Regions from separate parts of the Homo sapiens genome. Here regions 2 and 3 are each linked to region 1. Evidence: promoter capture Hi-C in 16 types of primary human blood cells and fetal thymus (Javierre and others, 2016). All regions are on one chromosome and are shown on one strand. Each heading gives the region's core, a stretch centred on a gene start or on the middle of the fragment in contact. The rest is flanking DNA. Distances are from core to core; before and after follow the strand shown. Region 1 holds the start of RRP1 (ribosomal RNA processing 1). Region 2 overlaps AGPAT3 (1-acylglycerol-3-phosphate O-acyltransferase 3). Region 3 overlaps AGPAT3 (1-acylglycerol-3-phosphate O-acyltransferase 3).

Evidence for each region. Contacts are between HindIII fragments. The CHiCAGO score rates a contact against its expected background, and 5 or more counts as called.
Region 2: a fragment that was not itself captured here is called in contact with the fragment with the promoter of RRP1 in region 1 in 11 of 17 cell types (endothelial precursors, activated CD4 T cells, M1 macrophages and 8 more); the score reaches 13.5 in endothelial precursors.
Region 3: a fragment that was not itself captured here is called in contact with the fragment with the promoter of RRP1 in region 1 in 1 of 17 cell types (endothelial precursors); the score reaches 6.3 in endothelial precursors.

What each region holds. Positions count from the first base shown.
Region 1 is chr21:43,787,494-43,792,606 of GRCh38, forward strand. It overlaps RRP1 (ribosomal RNA processing 1), which reads left to right and starts at 2,084. Exons shown (of 13, transcript NM_003683.6): 1 at 2,084-2,269; 2 at 3,857-3,939. The coding sequence starts at 2,137. RefSeq lists silencers at 1,885-2,114, 2,325-2,494, 4,434-4,646 and an enhancer at 2,145-2,254. The HindIII fragment of the contact is 31,682 bases long and covers 1-5,113 here.
Region 2 is chr21:43,981,707-43,986,819 of GRCh38, forward strand. AGPAT3 (1-acylglycerol-3-phosphate O-acyltransferase 3) reads left to right here. Exons shown (of 10, transcript NM_020132.5): 10 at 598-5,113. The coding sequence ends at 686. Among named protein-coding and RNA genes, the nearest start is that of TRAPPC10, 28 kb to the right of the region's middle. RefSeq lists enhancers at 1-261, 262-1,023, 1,024-1,785, 4,238-4,768 and a silencer at 3,418-3,477. The HindIII fragment of the contact is 4,574 bases long and covers 596-5,113 here.
Region 3 is chr21:43,948,358-43,953,470 of GRCh38, forward strand. All of the region lies in intron 2 of AGPAT3 (1-acylglycerol-3-phosphate O-acyltransferase 3), which reads left to right. Among named protein-coding and RNA genes, the nearest start is that of TRAPPC10, 61 kb to the right of the region's middle. The HindIII fragment of the contact is 2,921 bases long and covers 1,404-4,324 here.

The DNA of each region.
Region 1 (5,113 bases), core at 834-3,333:
ATGTGGCCTTAATTTGGTAAACGGGTCTTTCCAGACATGGTTAGTTAACATGAGGTCATGCTAAATTAAGGCAGGCCTAAGTCCACACTGACTGACGTCCTCATAAGAAGAGGAGAGGCTGGCTGGGTGCAGTGCCTCCCGCCTGTAATCCCAGCACTTTGGGGAGACCGAGGCAGCCCGATCACCTGAGGTCAGGAGTTCGAGATCAGCCTGGCCAACATGGTGAAACCCCATCTCTACTAAAAACACAAAAATTAGCCAGAAATTGCTTGAATCCTGGAGGTGGAGGTTGCAGTGAGCCAAGATCGTGCCACTGCACTCCAGCCCGGGCGACAGAGTGAAACTGTCTCAACAACAACAACAACAACAAGAACTAATTCAGATTCTAAAACCAGTTGCTAAATGTTTCCTTTTTTTTTTCTTTTTAGACAGAGTTTCAAAATCTGTCGCCCAGGCTGGAGTGCAGTGGCCGGATCTTGGCTCACTGCAACCTCCGCCTCCTGTGTTCAAGCAATTCTCTTGCCTCAGCCTCCCGAGTAGCTGGGATTACAGGTGCTCGCCACCACACCCAGCTAATTTTTGTATTTTTAGTAGAGATGGGGTTTCACCATGTTGGCCAGGATGGTCTCGAACTCCTGACCTCGGGTGATCCACCTGCTTTGGCCTCCCCAAGTGATGGTTGGGATTACAGGCATGAGCCACCACTGCCAGCCTTTTCAACTTTTTATGAAAAATTTCATACATAGAAAATGTCAGAAGATAGGTCAATGAAGACCTGTATTCCTGCCTGTAGACGCCACACTTGTATTTTTTTGAGACGGAGTCTCACTCTGTCACCCAGGCTGGGGTGCAGTGGCGCGATCTCGGCTCACTGCAAGCTCCGCCTCCGGGGTTCACGCCATTCTCCTGCCTCAGCCTCCTGAGTAGCTGGGACTACAGGCGCCCGCCACCACGCTCAGCTAATTTTTTGTGTTTTTAGTAGAGACGGGGTTTCACCGTGTTAGCCAGGATGGTCTCGATCTCCTGACCTCATGATCCGCCCGCCTCGGCCTCCCAAAGTGCTGGGATTACAGGCGTGAGCCACCGCGCCCGGCCAACGCCACAACTGTTAACAGTGTGCCATAGTTGCTTATCTGCATACACATATGTGCGTGTAATGATTTACTTTTTTGCAGAATGAATTACAGACATCATGACAGGTCACCTTTACCAAAGAGTTCTGCAGTTATTTCTAAAAATAAAGAATATTTTTCTACTTCAGGGTATGTCAAACTGTGGCCCTAGGCCAAATGCAGCCTCCCCGTTTTTTTTTTTGTTGTTGTTTTTTGAGACAGAGTCTCACTCTGTCGCCCAGGCTGGAGTGCAGCGGCGCAATCTCGACTCACTGCAACCTCCGCCTCCCGGATTCAAGCAATTCTCCTGCCTCAGCCTCCTGAGTAGCTGGGATTACAAGCGCCCGCCACTACGCCTGGCTAATTTTTGTATTTTTAGTAGAGACAGGGTTTCACCATGTTGGTCAGGCTGGTCTCAAACTCCTGACCTCGTGATCCACCCGCCTCAGCCTCCCAAAGTGCTGGAATTACAGGCGTGAGCCACCGCGCCCGGCACACCCCTGGTTTTAAAAATAAAGTTTCGAGCCGAGAGTGGTGGCGCCCGTGGTCCCAGCTCCTCGGGAGGCTGAGGCTGGGGGATCCCTGGAGCCCGCGAGGCAAAGGCTGCAGTGAGCCGAGATCGCGCCTTGCACTCCAGCGTGGGTAACAGAGCGAGACCCTGTCTCAGGAAAAAAATACAAGTGGGGTTATAAATAAAATGAGATTAAAAAACAACAGATCTTTGCCTCAGAATCCCGACCCACCGCAGCCCCAGCGAGGCGCAGGCGCAGGCGCAGGCGCGCGCTCGCTGGTTCCGCCCATGCGCACAGGCAGGGAGCGCGCGCCCCCTCTGTAGCCTTCGGCCTCCGGGGGCTGCAGTTGCGCGGCTCGGCCACTGCGCGGCGGTGGCGTGCGCCTGGGCGGTGTCGCGGGCTGTGACGTCACGCCACGCGCCGGGGCCAGGAGGAGGCGGGCGCAGGAGGCGCGTGCTCAGTGTGCTGGGTACCAGGCGACTCCGGGACAGGGGGTCTCGGCCGTCGGCGTCATGGTTTCGCGCGTGCAGCTCCCGCCTGAGATCCAGCTGGCTCAGCGCCTGGCGGGGAATGAGCAGGTGACCCGGGACCGGGCGGTGAGGAAGCTCCGGAAATACATCGTCGCCAGGACTCAGCGGGCCGCAGGTTGGCGGGGGTGTGGGCGGCTGGCGTCTCGGGGGCCGGCTGGGCTGGTGCGGGTGTGGGCGGCGGCGGCCGGAGCTGGGGGCCCTCCGAGCCCTGTGGAACCTCCACGTGGCCGGGCCGGGCAGGCGGGGTCCACTGGCCTGTTCCCGCTGTTACCGGCCCACGGCCCCCGCCGCCGCTTTCCCTCGTGGTGCGGTGACTCTGGTCCCTCTGCGAGAACGCTCCTCCCCAGCCCCGTAACCCCTTTCCTAGCTCAGGCGTCCCCTCCCTCCAGTAGACCATGTACTCCTGCTGCCCTGCTGTTTGGGCACCCAGTATTTTTCCCTCATGGCAGCATTTCCCACTGTTTGCAGTTTTCTGTTTTGCGTTAATTATTGGATTGTTTTCCGATTTCCACTCGAGAGTACCTCTCTGAGGGCCGAGAATCTACTTCTTGTTCATGGTACCAGGTGGTTCTCCGAGCGTGGTCCCCCATCAGCAGTAGCATCCCCTGGACATTTGTTAGAAATACACGTTCTATGCCGGGCGCAGTGGCCCAAGCCTGTAATCCCAGCTACTTGGCACGTCGATGTGGGAGGATCACAAAGGCCCAGGAGTCCAGCCTGGGCAACATAGCAAGACTCCATTTCCATCGCAAAAGAAAAGAAAGAAATGCAAGTTCTAGGATCCCAGCCCTACTAAATCAGGACTGGCATCTGCTTTATGAAGCTGTTCAAGTGCTTCTGCTCCCCACACTCAGCCTGAGAACCACTGCTGCAGGAACAGGTTGCCAGACACATAGGACTTCAGTGAATGTCAACTGAGTAATGTTTTAAATTAAAATTTTTTGTTATTTTTCTGAGTGAGACAGACCTCACTGTCATCCGTGGTGGAGGAGTGCATTGGCACGATTACAGCTCACTGCAGCCTCTACCTCCCAGGCTCAAGTGAGCCTCCCATCTCAGCCTCCCCAATAGCTGGGACTACTGGCACCGTGCGGCCAGGCCAGCTAAGTTTTGTATTTTTTGTACAAATTGGGGTCTTCCTATGTTGCCCAGACTGGTCTTGAACTCCTGGCCTCAAGTGATCCTGCCTCAGCACTCAATTCCAAAGTGCTGGGAGTACAGGCGTGAGCCACCGCACCTGGCCTCAGTAATTTCTGTTTCTCTCGTAGTCTGAATGCCTGAGTTCACTTTCTTCTTTTAGTATTTGAGATATATTACAGGAGAGTGCAGAAGCCCTCAGTATAATGCTGGATGAATTATCACCAACAGATTAACCTTGTGGCCACTGTCCAGCTTAGGAAACCGTCAAGGTTCGCAATTTTGAATTTCCAAAATGGAGTATGGTGCCTGATACCTTGTAGATCTCAGTCGGTTTTACTGTGTGCGTGAAGTAGCAGTTACCTGGAGTAGCCGCATAGCCACAGGCGCGGCAGGTTCTGGGTTAGAAGGATTGTTTGAAGGGGAGGGCCAGATTCTGCCCCCCAGTTGCCTTTACCGTAAGTGGGACTTTGGTCTCATTCAGGCAGTCACGTTTCTGTGGCTTCCTTTCTGGCACTCGAAGGTGTGGGATTCATTTGGTCCAACCGTTGCTGTTTTGATGCAGGTGGTTTTACGCACGACGAGCTGCTGAAGGTGTGGAAAGGACTGTTTTATTGCATGTGGATGCAGGACAAGCCACTCCTCCAGGTGAGTGGGGGGAGCAGCAGAGCAGGTACAGAAGCAGCGGGGGAGGATGGATGGGCATCTGGTCAACCCAGTTTTTCTTTTTTTTTTAAGTCGGAGTTTCGCTCTTGTTGCCCAGGCTGGAGTGCAGTGGCTCAATCTCGGCTTACTGCAACCTCAGCCTTCTGGTTTCAAGCAATTTTCCTGCCTCAGCCTCCCAAGTAGCTGGGAGTACAGGTACCTGCCACCATGCCTGGCTAATTTTTTGTATTTTTAGTAGAGACAGAGTTTCATCATGTTGGTCAGGCTGGTCTCGAACTCCTGAGCTCAAGTGATCCTCCCATCTCGGCCTCCCAAAGTGCTGGGATTACAGGCATGAGCCACCGCGCCCGGCCTGGTCAACCCAGTTTTAATATGGCCAGAGACCGTGGGGAGGTCGTATAGCCTTGACGCTTGGTTCGGCACGGCTGGTGGGCCTGGGCCTTTGTTAGGTGAGTCTTACACTTGCTGAGGTGTTGATGTGATTGACTGAGCCGTGCACTGCAGCAGCACTGGCATGGGTGAAAACTGGGTTTTGTGTTTGTCCTGGGTTGCAAACAAGTGCTGAAATAGTGGAAACCACGGGGCGGAATTCAAGTCTCCTGAGACAAGGACGTCTCCTGCTAGCCTTTTCCAAACATTGTTTCTCAAATTGTGAATTTTGTGCTCTCCTTCAAAATCTCCTGGGTGGTGAGGGTACTTAGTTAAGTTCAGGTTCCTGGGCCATATTCCATGCCCACTGAATTATCAAGGGGAGGCTGTGAAATGTCCCTTAGCAAGTATTCTGGGCGATGGCTGGCACGGTGATGTAGGCAGATAGCCAGTGATCTATGGGGTCTCGCAGCCCTCTTCCTCCTGATGGTTAGGGGGCTGTGAGTCCCAAGGCTCCCTTCCGCTCTCCCACGTCCCTCTTTAACCGTGACTCTGTGGCTTAGGGCACAGCCTCTGTCAAGAGGGCAGTGCCTGCTGTGGTTGTGTGAGAGGCTGTTGACCCCAGCTGTCTAGAGGGGCCTCCCGTGGTTGTGTGAGAGCCTGTTGACCCTGGCTGTAGAGGGGTCTTTTGGAGCAGGGGTGAAACCTCCAGTGCACTGAGCTGAGACCCCCTGGAAGCCGACTCTCTGTGATGAGTGAGTGAGTGAGTGGGTGAGTGGGTGGTTGC
Region 2 (5,113 bases), core at 1,633-4,132, 200 kb after region 1:
CCCCGTAATTGAGGGGTCTCTGTCCGTGGAGACACAGTCCGTGTGCATCGCCCCGTGAGCCGACTCCCCAGGCCCAGCAGCTGGGCCAGCTCCTCCCCTGCTCCTGCCGCCCCTGCCAGGGGCCTTGGTGGGAGGGGTCCTGAGAGGCAGTGACTGCCACCAGCCTCTCCCATTGGACTACGAGATGACTTGAGGCCACCCACAGAGGACAGGATGTGACCTGCTTACATCCGAGGGTCCTGCTCGTCCACCTCTGTCACCTGTTGGGTTTGCAAGGCCGAGCTGTTAGAATGCCCCGAAGCCCTTCTGCTCCCACCAGCCAAAGACCCAGAGGGGCAGGCAGGGCAAGGTCCACGTGTCCACCTGCCTCGGACCCAGCCGGTCAGAAGACGTGCCCCTCACCCCTGCCTGAGCAGACCACGGTCTGAGAGGGCTGTCTCCCCGCGGGCCACACCTACTCACTGACAGCAGAGGCCACTGGGTGCGGGGCAGAGGGACAGGGTCTGGGGCAGAGGAAGGAAGCCCCAGTAACACGTTTTACAGCAAAAAGGCAAAGTCATCCGTCTCACCTCTTCTCTCTCTCTCCTGTCTTGAAAGCTTCCTTTGGAGTTCGCAGACTGATAGGAGTAACTGAGATAGAAAAAGGCTCCAGCTACGGAAACCAAGAGTTTAAGAAAAAGGAATAATTAATGGCTGTGACTGAACACACGCGGCCCTGACGGTGGTATCCAGTTAACTCAAAACCAACACACAGAGTGCAGGAAAAGACAATTAGAAACTATTTTTCTTATTAACTGGTGACTAATATTAACAAAACTTGAGCCAAGAGTAAAGAATTCAGAAGGCCTGTCAGGTGAAGTCTTCAGCCTCCCACAGCGCAGGGTCCCAGCATCTCCACGCGCGCCCGTGGGAGGTGGGTCCGGCCGGAGAGGCCTCCCGCGGACGCCGTCTCTCCAGAACTCCGCTTCCAAGAGGGAGCCTTTGGCTGCTTTCTCTCCTTAAACTTAGATCAAATTTTTTGGTTTTTAATCAGTTATCTTGGGAACTTAACCTGGCCCCTCACCTCTTCTGCACCCCCCGCCCCCGAAACTGTCTCGTAATGAATTTCTGCTGTCCTCCTGGGAGTGGACGGCCGGGTCCCGTCCCCCGGGAGCATCGCTCGGCTCAGCACCTTGGCTCCCAGTGGGGGCCCCGTGGAGGGCGCCCGTAGTGATAAGCACACCGGCACGAACGTCAGGTCCATTCCTCGAAGTCGGAGCCCTCACTCTGCCCTGTCCTGGGGCTGGCTGAGGGCGAACGCCCCACCTCACTTTCTAGAGCCCTGTCTGTCCTAGCTCCTATCTGACCTTGTGTGTAAATACGTACATCTGTTTTTAAAGTGGATGGGCCCCTGAGAACTCAGTGAAATGCAGAGTTCTCCATGCACCTAAAGCTCCTTTGTCGCTCTCATGGCTGTCAGATCCTGGTCCCTCCACACTGGGTGCTGGGGAGGGAGGACCCTCGGGGCTACCGCGCGCCCCCCCATCCCACAGATCAGGAGCCAAGGAGGGAGAACAGGGCAGCCTGTGGGACTCTAGGATGCTTCAGAAGAAGCGACGGCACCGTCAACCCTCTGTTTTTTAAAGGTGGTTGGAGACTGTTAACACTGAGCTCATTGACTTCTAGAGATTTTATTTTTACTGGTTGATCTCTTGGTGGTTTTCAACTTCCTGCTGGAAACTAGAGGTGGGGCACCCCCCACCCCCCAGCCTCGCACTGTGTCCTTGGGGAAGGCCCGCCCCCATCCTGGCCGGTGTCACTGTGGCCCGGCCACCCCTGAGCGCCCAGCTCCCTACCTCCTGGACGTCTCTGAGAGTCCAGGCAGAGCAGAGGGCAGCGCTCGGCCGGTCATGCTGGCTCCCTTGGCCTTGCAGCGAGCCCCTGGCCCACGCCGAGCGAGGGATGCTTCTCCCTACAGCATGTCCACTCCCCCGGCATGGCCAGGTGGGGCCCCTGGGGCAATGGCAGTGGTAGAACGCTCAACTTGGTTGCGGTACCATCAGCCCACCTGCATTTGGCTTTCGACTTGCTTGTTCTAAGTCACAGCGCCCTCATCTTTTTAGCAAGGTAAAAAAACCAAAATGGGTGTTATCTCTGATATCTTGAAACCAGCGTTCTGAATAGAGGTAGGTTGAGTTTTCTAGGGGAAAACAAATGGAGAAAAGAGGCATGAAGAAAAGTAAACCGAGAACATAATTAGGCATCGGGCCTAAGTGTCCTGGGGAGATTGGAGGGGACGGCAGCGTTCTGCATGATGGAGGCGCTGCCGGGCCCCGGGTCTGTGGGGGCCGTGCTCTCAGGGCGTGTGCGGGACGCCACCTGTGCACACCTGCTCAGAGCACGGCTCCTCGCAGGGGTGAAGGGGCAGACCAACGAAACCAGATGAGACCAACGACACCATGCGAGACACGCTTGCAGACACTGTTGTTTTGGAAATGTGCTTCCCTCCATCTGAAATCTCATCCCTCCACCCGCCCACTCGGGCAGCTGTGCCGTGGGCAGGGCATGCGCTCCCCTGGCTGAGCACCCCAGAGATTCTCCTGCACCTTCCTCATGCCGCACGCTGCTCATCCGTCTCCATGTGTGTTTAGATCCATGCCATTCACTGACTCACTAACACCTGCAAAATCTTTAAGGAAAAAAGCTGAAGGGTACGACCATGCACATATGTGACCTGGAAAATGCAAATTTAGATCTTTTATGATTTAATTATTATTGTTTCCCATAGAAGTTCCCTCCCTTTGAAATTAATATATAATGTATAAATTCTGCACTGAGCCATGGCGGAGCTGGGCAGCCCCTAGGTTAGAGTGGAGACGGAGGCCCAGGCGCAGGGGTCACACCTCATCTGGTTTCCTTCCCATCTCACAGCTTAGCTTGTGCTTCTCAACACCAAGTCTTTAAGAGCAATAAAAACTACACCATGAATGTTTGAATTTTTTTTTTTTGGGGGGGGGAGGGTGGATTTTGCTTTTCATCCAGAAGGAAAAGGGGAGGAGAGCTCCTTTACATTTTTTAAATTAAATTCATAAATCCCAGAACAGTCTTTTTTTTTTCTTTTTCCTTTACACCCTACTTCTGAGCTTAATTCAGTTGATGTTATGTCCAAATTCAGGCTGAGTGCTCAGGCTGAAGCAACTCTGTAGCCCACAGTCCGTGCTGGCCACTGTCGGGGTGAGGCACATTCTAGGCCTGGCATCGCTGATGCCCTCTGCACCCAGTCCTTGAGCCAGGCCGAGGACAGGAAGGGCATTGCTGGCCTGTAGCTCCTGTTACCCACCCAGAGCCAGGCGCCACACTGGAGGCTCCCAGGCGGGAGGGCCCAGGCCCACCCACGGGCGTCTGGCCGGTCAAGCTCCCAGCCTGGGCCGTGGTCTCCTGGGGACGCCGCTGGCCTCCCAGCTTAGGCCCAGGTGCCAGGTGTCATGGGGTCTCCTGCCCATCTTCCCAAGGATGCCATTGCTGTCTTCATCGTCTTCCCCCGTGTGAGACACTGGTTGTCTGGTACTCGGCGACAGTGTACCAGACGCGCACCCTATGTGAGGTGCTTTAAGGTCCCTGTCCTCAGGAAGCGCAGTCTGGTGGAAGAGATGAGCGCTGAACAAATCACTAAATAACACAAAACAACAATGTAAGCAGCACTTTCTTGTGTAAAAAAAAAAAAAAAGCACGTCCTGTCGATGAATTTTGAGTCTCTCTGCCTTGCCTGTCCCGACTCCCTTTCGCGCACCGTGGCATGAGAATCTTTCCTCACGCTGTTCGTTGCGGTATTGCTGAGCATTGATGTTGATTTGAAGGAAAAGCCGTGGTTGGACCCAGCTGTGTGTTTCACTCACGTGCAATTGAGTAGCTGTTGCCAGGCTGTCCATGCCTGTTGTGACTACCGGTTGGGGTCAGATTTGGGGTGAAGAATGAGTAAGTTTCTGCATGCTTTGTCTCTACCTGAGACACTTCTACAACAAGCCAAGTATAATCTCTCCAGCCCTGCAGATTTTCACCTGACTTGTTCAGCCCCATGCGTAGACTCCCGCTGCAGGCCTCTGGCCTGTGGCTCACTGCATGCAGCCCCTGGCGTGCAATACTAGTGCTCCACGGCGCGATGTGCTTCTAGCCCTTGCACTGCACCTAGGCTCAGGGTTCAAACGGCCAGCCCGAAAAGCCTGCCTGCCTTCTTTCTGGAAACAGCACGTCCCCGGCCGTGTGCCTGCCCCTTTCTCTACTGAGCTAGTCCCCAAACCAAAGGCAAGCCCCCTCGGGCCTCGGGGGATGGGGCCGGCCACACCCCTGACTCCGCCCTGGCTCTGCCCCATACCCCTGCCGTGGGGCCGACCTGGGGGATGCAGACATCCGGCTCCGTATTCCTGCCTATCGGGGCCAGGATGCAAAAACAATTTTTGCGTAAAAGATGTCACACTGATCTGCTGGAGTGGGGTGGACACATGAATTCAGTTTTATCATGAACACTCGCCACTGGCTGCTTGTTAATTCAGGGATAATGGTGGCATTCTTACAAACTGCTCGGGAAATAGAATGACGGGAACACTTTTAGGGAGCCCAGGAAGTTACCAGGGACATTGGTGTCGCCGGCCCAGGCAACAGCAGCGTACGCTTTTCAAAGATCATTGAGTTGTCTTAGAATTTGAAGCTGTGTAATGACAATGTCACCTGGAGTTCGTCTCCATTTCTTAACTTTTTGTTGCACAAGTATTTGGACAGAAGTCGAACTGTGAATGAGATACTGAAATGCACTAAATTGTATTACATTAAACTGGAGTTACTTGATACAATGAAGAAATGCATCTGATCTACTTGTATTTATTGTCTCAGAATTGTACGTTGTGACAATCAAATGTTACTTGCCTAAATGCCAGGAAATTCAACTGGCCTTTTAATCAGCAAGATCGCCAGCAAGTACTGTAACTGTAAAGGAAAATCTCTCTCTCTGGAGAACCCACACAAACCATTGACCTGAGTGCGCATGACAGCCACTGGCTTCTTTTTCTATGATTGAAAATCTGCCATCGCTGACTGTTGGCCAGTTTCAAAGGGACCCATTGTATACAGGGTGCAAATG
Region 3 (5,113 bases), core at 1,614-4,113, 160 kb after region 1:
CTTAGGAAAGCAAAAGCCTCCCTTAAAGCCCCCGCAGACTTCTCCCTGGCTGGACCCAGGGCACATGCCCATCCCATCCCTGGATCACTTGCTCAAAGAGGGGATGGGATTACCTTTATGGCTTAGATCTGGGGCTGGGCTTCCCTCCCATATCCAAGGGTGAGCGCTGCCATAATAGCAGGAGGTTCTGTTACCAGCAAAGGGGGTAGTGGCAGGTAGGTAACTCACAGTGACTTGCATGTTGCAAAAGGCGGGGTTCTGTTATCCGGAATTGGAGGAGTGGTTTTAGGTATGTCATATAATTATGCCTTTAAATCCATTGGTTGAGAAAACAGGCAATGCTAAAAGATTCTCATGAACCTAGCAGCGGTTTTAATTTTGTATTTTATTTATTTTATCAGTATCTAAATACAATAGAAATATAAATACAATAGAAATGGAATGGATCATGTGAGATGTGTGTTGTTGACGAACGTGTAGTCAGTGCTTCATGCACATGGGATCCAAGTCCCCAAACAGTGGCTGCAGATCCACACCCTGCTCCAGGTGCTGAGGTGCCCCAGACAGCTGCTCCTAGTCAGTGAAGCATTGACTCTTTAGTCTCAATTGTTGGTCTGCATGTCTACTGATAAGCCGGTACTGTGCTGTTTTAATTATTGAGGCTTTCTAGATGTTGTAGTGTATTTTAGGGCTATTTTCTTGTTCTTTTTCATGATTTTCCTGGCTTTTCTTCCCTGTTTAGTTTTCCATATGAACTATAGAATCAGTATGTCTAGTTCTGGGGCTGGGGGGGAGCTTTTGCTATTTTAATTAGGATTCAGTTATATATTTAGGTTTATGTATCATTTACATATTACTATCTAACAAACCACCTCAAAATGTATCAATTTAAAACAACCATCATGTCGGGGGGCCCTCAATTCTGTGGGTCAGCAATTTGGGTTGGGCTCAGCAACATGGTTCTTCTGCTGGTTTCCCCTGGGGTCATTGGAGTGGCTGTCGTCAGCTAGAGCTGCCTGGAGAACCTCAGGTGGAATGGCCCATTTCTGGTCCATTTCTGCTCCATGTGGGACCACCTTCTGTCAGACTAGCCCAAGCCACCACCTCTGATGGCCACAAGGGTGTAAGGGAGTGGCAACGCTCTAAAGACTGTCTTGGAAGTCCTGTGACACCAATCCCACCACATTCTATTGATAGGGTGAGCCCTGAAGTCAACCTGGGTTCAAAAGGGTGGGGAGTAGACTCCATGTCTTGGCAGGAGGAGCTGCACGTTACTAAGGGCATGTGTTCAGGGAAGGGGTGGTTGCAGCCTGGTCACACGGGGTTTTTCCATTTGTTCAGCTCTGCTTTTGTATCTTTCAAGATGTTCTGTGGTTTCCTCATAGAGGCTTTATTTCCTCTGAAGCTTTTGTTTAGGTATTTTCTCTTTCTTATTGCAATCTGCGCTCTCCTTCAAGACACCTTCTGCTTTTGTGTGTTCCTGTGGAGGGGTGGTCTGCTGGGCCCCTCTCCTTGGCTCCTGAACACACAAGGGGATCATATATCCATATCCTCCCAAGCTGTAAGCACTTGCGCTGGGCTGCAAACTTGCATCCTACTTGCCGTAGAGGACAGCCCTTCCCCTAAACTTCCAGTTTCCCCCTCTCCCACCTGCCTGAAAGGCACCAGCCAGGCAGTCTTGGAAGCCTCGTGTTGAAGGTGGTGGAGCCCCCAGAGCCTGGGCCCAGATGACCATGTGGGACAGAGCTGCCAGTGACCTAGAGCCATTAAGAGAGCAAGAGATAAACTCTGTGATTGTCTTGGTCTCTTCTGACTGATTCGGAGGCCACTGCAGTCTGCATGTTGTACATTATTCCTGTTAGCATCACTATCAACTCTAGTTCCTGTTGTAGTAGATTTGGATTCTCCTGGGTATTGAGGCTACACAATCGTCTGCACAGACTGACAGTTTCACCTCCTCCTGCCAGACTTTTAGTCTCCTGCTAATTCCAAATGCTGATAAGGTTGGGCTGGCAACAATTTCATATTTTTCAGGCTTATGAAGAGGTAAGGTGGTCTCTGTAAGTGAATTTACCCAAGAACTGAAATTTGCCCTTTAAACCTCAAAATAGGATTGTGTTTGTTTCATCTAAAATTTTAGTTGAATGCTTAGTAGTATCTTCGCTGCTTACCAGACTTCTCAGATAATGTGGTAACTGTGACGCCGCCCTCTCTCAGCATTCGGACGAGATCAGCGTGGGCCACAGTCACCGCATTGTGCCCTCATGCGTGATGTCAGAGAGCCTGCAACCGCGCCCCCGCTGCTCAGTGGCCTCCAAGGGGCCTCAAGTCCTGGGCTCGTTTCTGCCCCAGGTAGTGCTGTCAGCGGCATGCCTGCCTTCTGCAAGCCCCTCTTCCCTGTTCCCCAGCCCGCACTTCCAATGAGCTGTGGGCCAGGAAACCAGCCCGTCACACTTGTCCACGCTGCGTTTAAAGCGGGAGGAAGGAGGACCCAATGCAGGGCCCGAAAGGTCCACTGTGAGTGAAGTCTTTTTCCTTATGGGACACCTAGGCTGGCTTCTCAGAAAGTGTGTGCAGTTTATTTCCGGGTTCTTGGCGGTGTTCTGAATAGTAAACGTTGCCACCTAAATGAAGACCCTTTGAGATATCACTGCGTCTCTACTGTTCCTGATGGTGGACTTTCTCCTCCAGCGTCTGCTGACAGTAACAGTGGAGCTTTCCCCAGCACCCAAGAGCCCGGGGCTCACCGTGGTCCCCTCCTGTGCAGCCAGCACACAAGGCCCTCCCGTGCCACCACCTCGCAGGGGCCAGGTCTGCTCGGCCCACTACACCAGAGCCCTTGGGTGCGGGGTGGGCGGGACAGAGAAGAGGAAGGGGGGAAGGAGGGAGCTGACAGCCGTTTCTCAGTTCCCCATTATGGACTTGGATTTGGATCACTGAAATCCATATGGAACTAAGAAGTTATCTTTATCCCACAACTCAAAACTCCTGTCTAGAGCATCAGAAATGATGTGCTTTTGGCATCCTGAAATGTCTTTCTCCTCCGCCAACTGCTGTCTGCTGAGAGCTAGCCTTGCTCTCGGAAGGGCGGCTTGGGCAGGGCAAAGGGAGAATTCCAGGGTTTGGGAGCATCTGCTGATCCCAGAATAGTTGCCAGTGGTGACATCTTCTTCCTGGACCCCAGGACCCAAGGACAGCAGGTCCCATCCCAGCTCTGCCCAGCTCCTGCCCCTGCACAGAGCAGGACGCCAGCTGGGGTGGGCACTCTGTGGCGTTTTGGGAAGATAGTGCTATATTTCAGAGGCTGTGCCATCTCCTCTGGGGGATTTCAGCGCTGGTGACAGAGGCATGAAAGGCTCATGGATAGACAAACTGGTGTTTACCCCTCATAGAAACGAAGTTGCCGTCCTATGTGTGCAGAGAAAACCAGGGACTCCTCTGTTCAGAAGGAAGAAATGGAGGGGCCTGGTGGGCCTGGCAGCGGTGCGGAGGTGGTGGGCTCGGAACTGTAGTTTCCATTCCATAAAAAGGCGTCTTCGGAAAGGTTGGGGATTTTGGCAAAGAAGGGGGGTCTCTGGGGAGACTGCATGTGGGTGAGATCCTCTGCCTGGCCGGTTTTGGAGGAAGAGGGTCACAGGGACCAGCGACGGGGAGGAGGGTCCACATGCTGCAGCGAAGGACCTGGGGCAGGCAGGGGGTGGGCTGGATGGCGGAACACGGGGATGGGCCCGTACCTCTCCAGAACTACGGACCTGGGATGAGGCGGCCTGTGAGTGCGATTGGGCTGTGTGACGGCACCAGAGGCGGGGCTGCAGCTGCAGGCTTTTGTCGTCCTGTGGTCCTGGAGGCTGCAGGTCCAAGGTCAAGGATTCCTTCTGAGGCTTCTCACCCGGGCTCTGACTGCAGGCGGTCTCCCTTTTTCATAAGGACACCGGTCAGATGGAATCAGCGCCCACCCTGATGATATCATTTAACTTAATTACTGTGTTAAAGGCCCTGTCTCCAAATAAGGTCACATTTCGAGGACCTGGGCATTACCTTTGTGGAAGGAACTCAGTTCACCCTAACAAAAGGTGGCAGAATTGGGTGTGGGCGTGTGGGGCTGGGCTCTGATTGGCAAGCAGTGCTCTGGCCCTGCCCAGGCAGAGGCAGCCTCGTGCCTCACCTTTGCTCCCCTGATCTAAGAAGGTGCACACCCCGGTAGCTTGTGCAGGGGCCAGGACAAAACCCAAGAAGCAGCCATCACGCCCCAGGACCAAGATGTGCTGGCGCCAGGCTTCCGGGCAACCTAAATCTGTTGTTTAATGAAGACGCGCTGGCACCAAGCTTCTGGGCGACCTAAACCTGTTGTTTAATGAAGGGGCTCAGAAGCAACTCAGTGTCCTCAGTGTCTCGGTGGCATCTGAGCAGCCATGAAAAGGTGCCATGGGGACTGGAGAGGCCCACTGTCACACCTCCCAGCCCCAGCCCCAGAAATCAGATGGAGCCCCAGAGGTCCCACCCCTGAGGTCCCACCCTGTGTGGCTCTTCTATCCCAGGCGTTCTCCAAGGTCCCCAGGGTGCTGGGGGCTGCCCAGGCTATCTGCTGCGGTCAGGGTGTCAGTGGTGCCACCATAACCAAGTGAGGCGAGGTTCCACATCGCCGGCCAAGTGGCTTTATGGGCCTCCAGTGGGATGTGGCAGGAAGTACCCAGCGGCTCTGCCATGCATTCTTGACCAGAAATGTTGAACCCGAGTTAATTGTGAGGAAACGGACAAATCCAGGGTGTGGGGCACGCCGCAGAGAGCTGCCTTAGCCGCTTCAACACCATCAGGCCAGAGTAGGCGGGGAGCGTCTCGGGGAAAGGGGACAGAGAGACGTGCCATCCAAATGCATGTGTGTCCTCCACGGGGCCCTGCATCCCCGCAGCTAGGAAGGTCATCTGGGGACAGTTGGTGAAATGGAAACAGGGACGGGATGTTCGGCAGTATTCTGTCGGTATTCATTTCTTGGGTGTGCTCATGGTGTCCTAGTGAGCAGGCTGTCCTGATTCGTAGGAGATGTGGACGGACATGGAGGGAGTGCCGTGACGTAGCCCAGGAGACCTTTTTAGCTTAAAGCCTGTGCATAAGA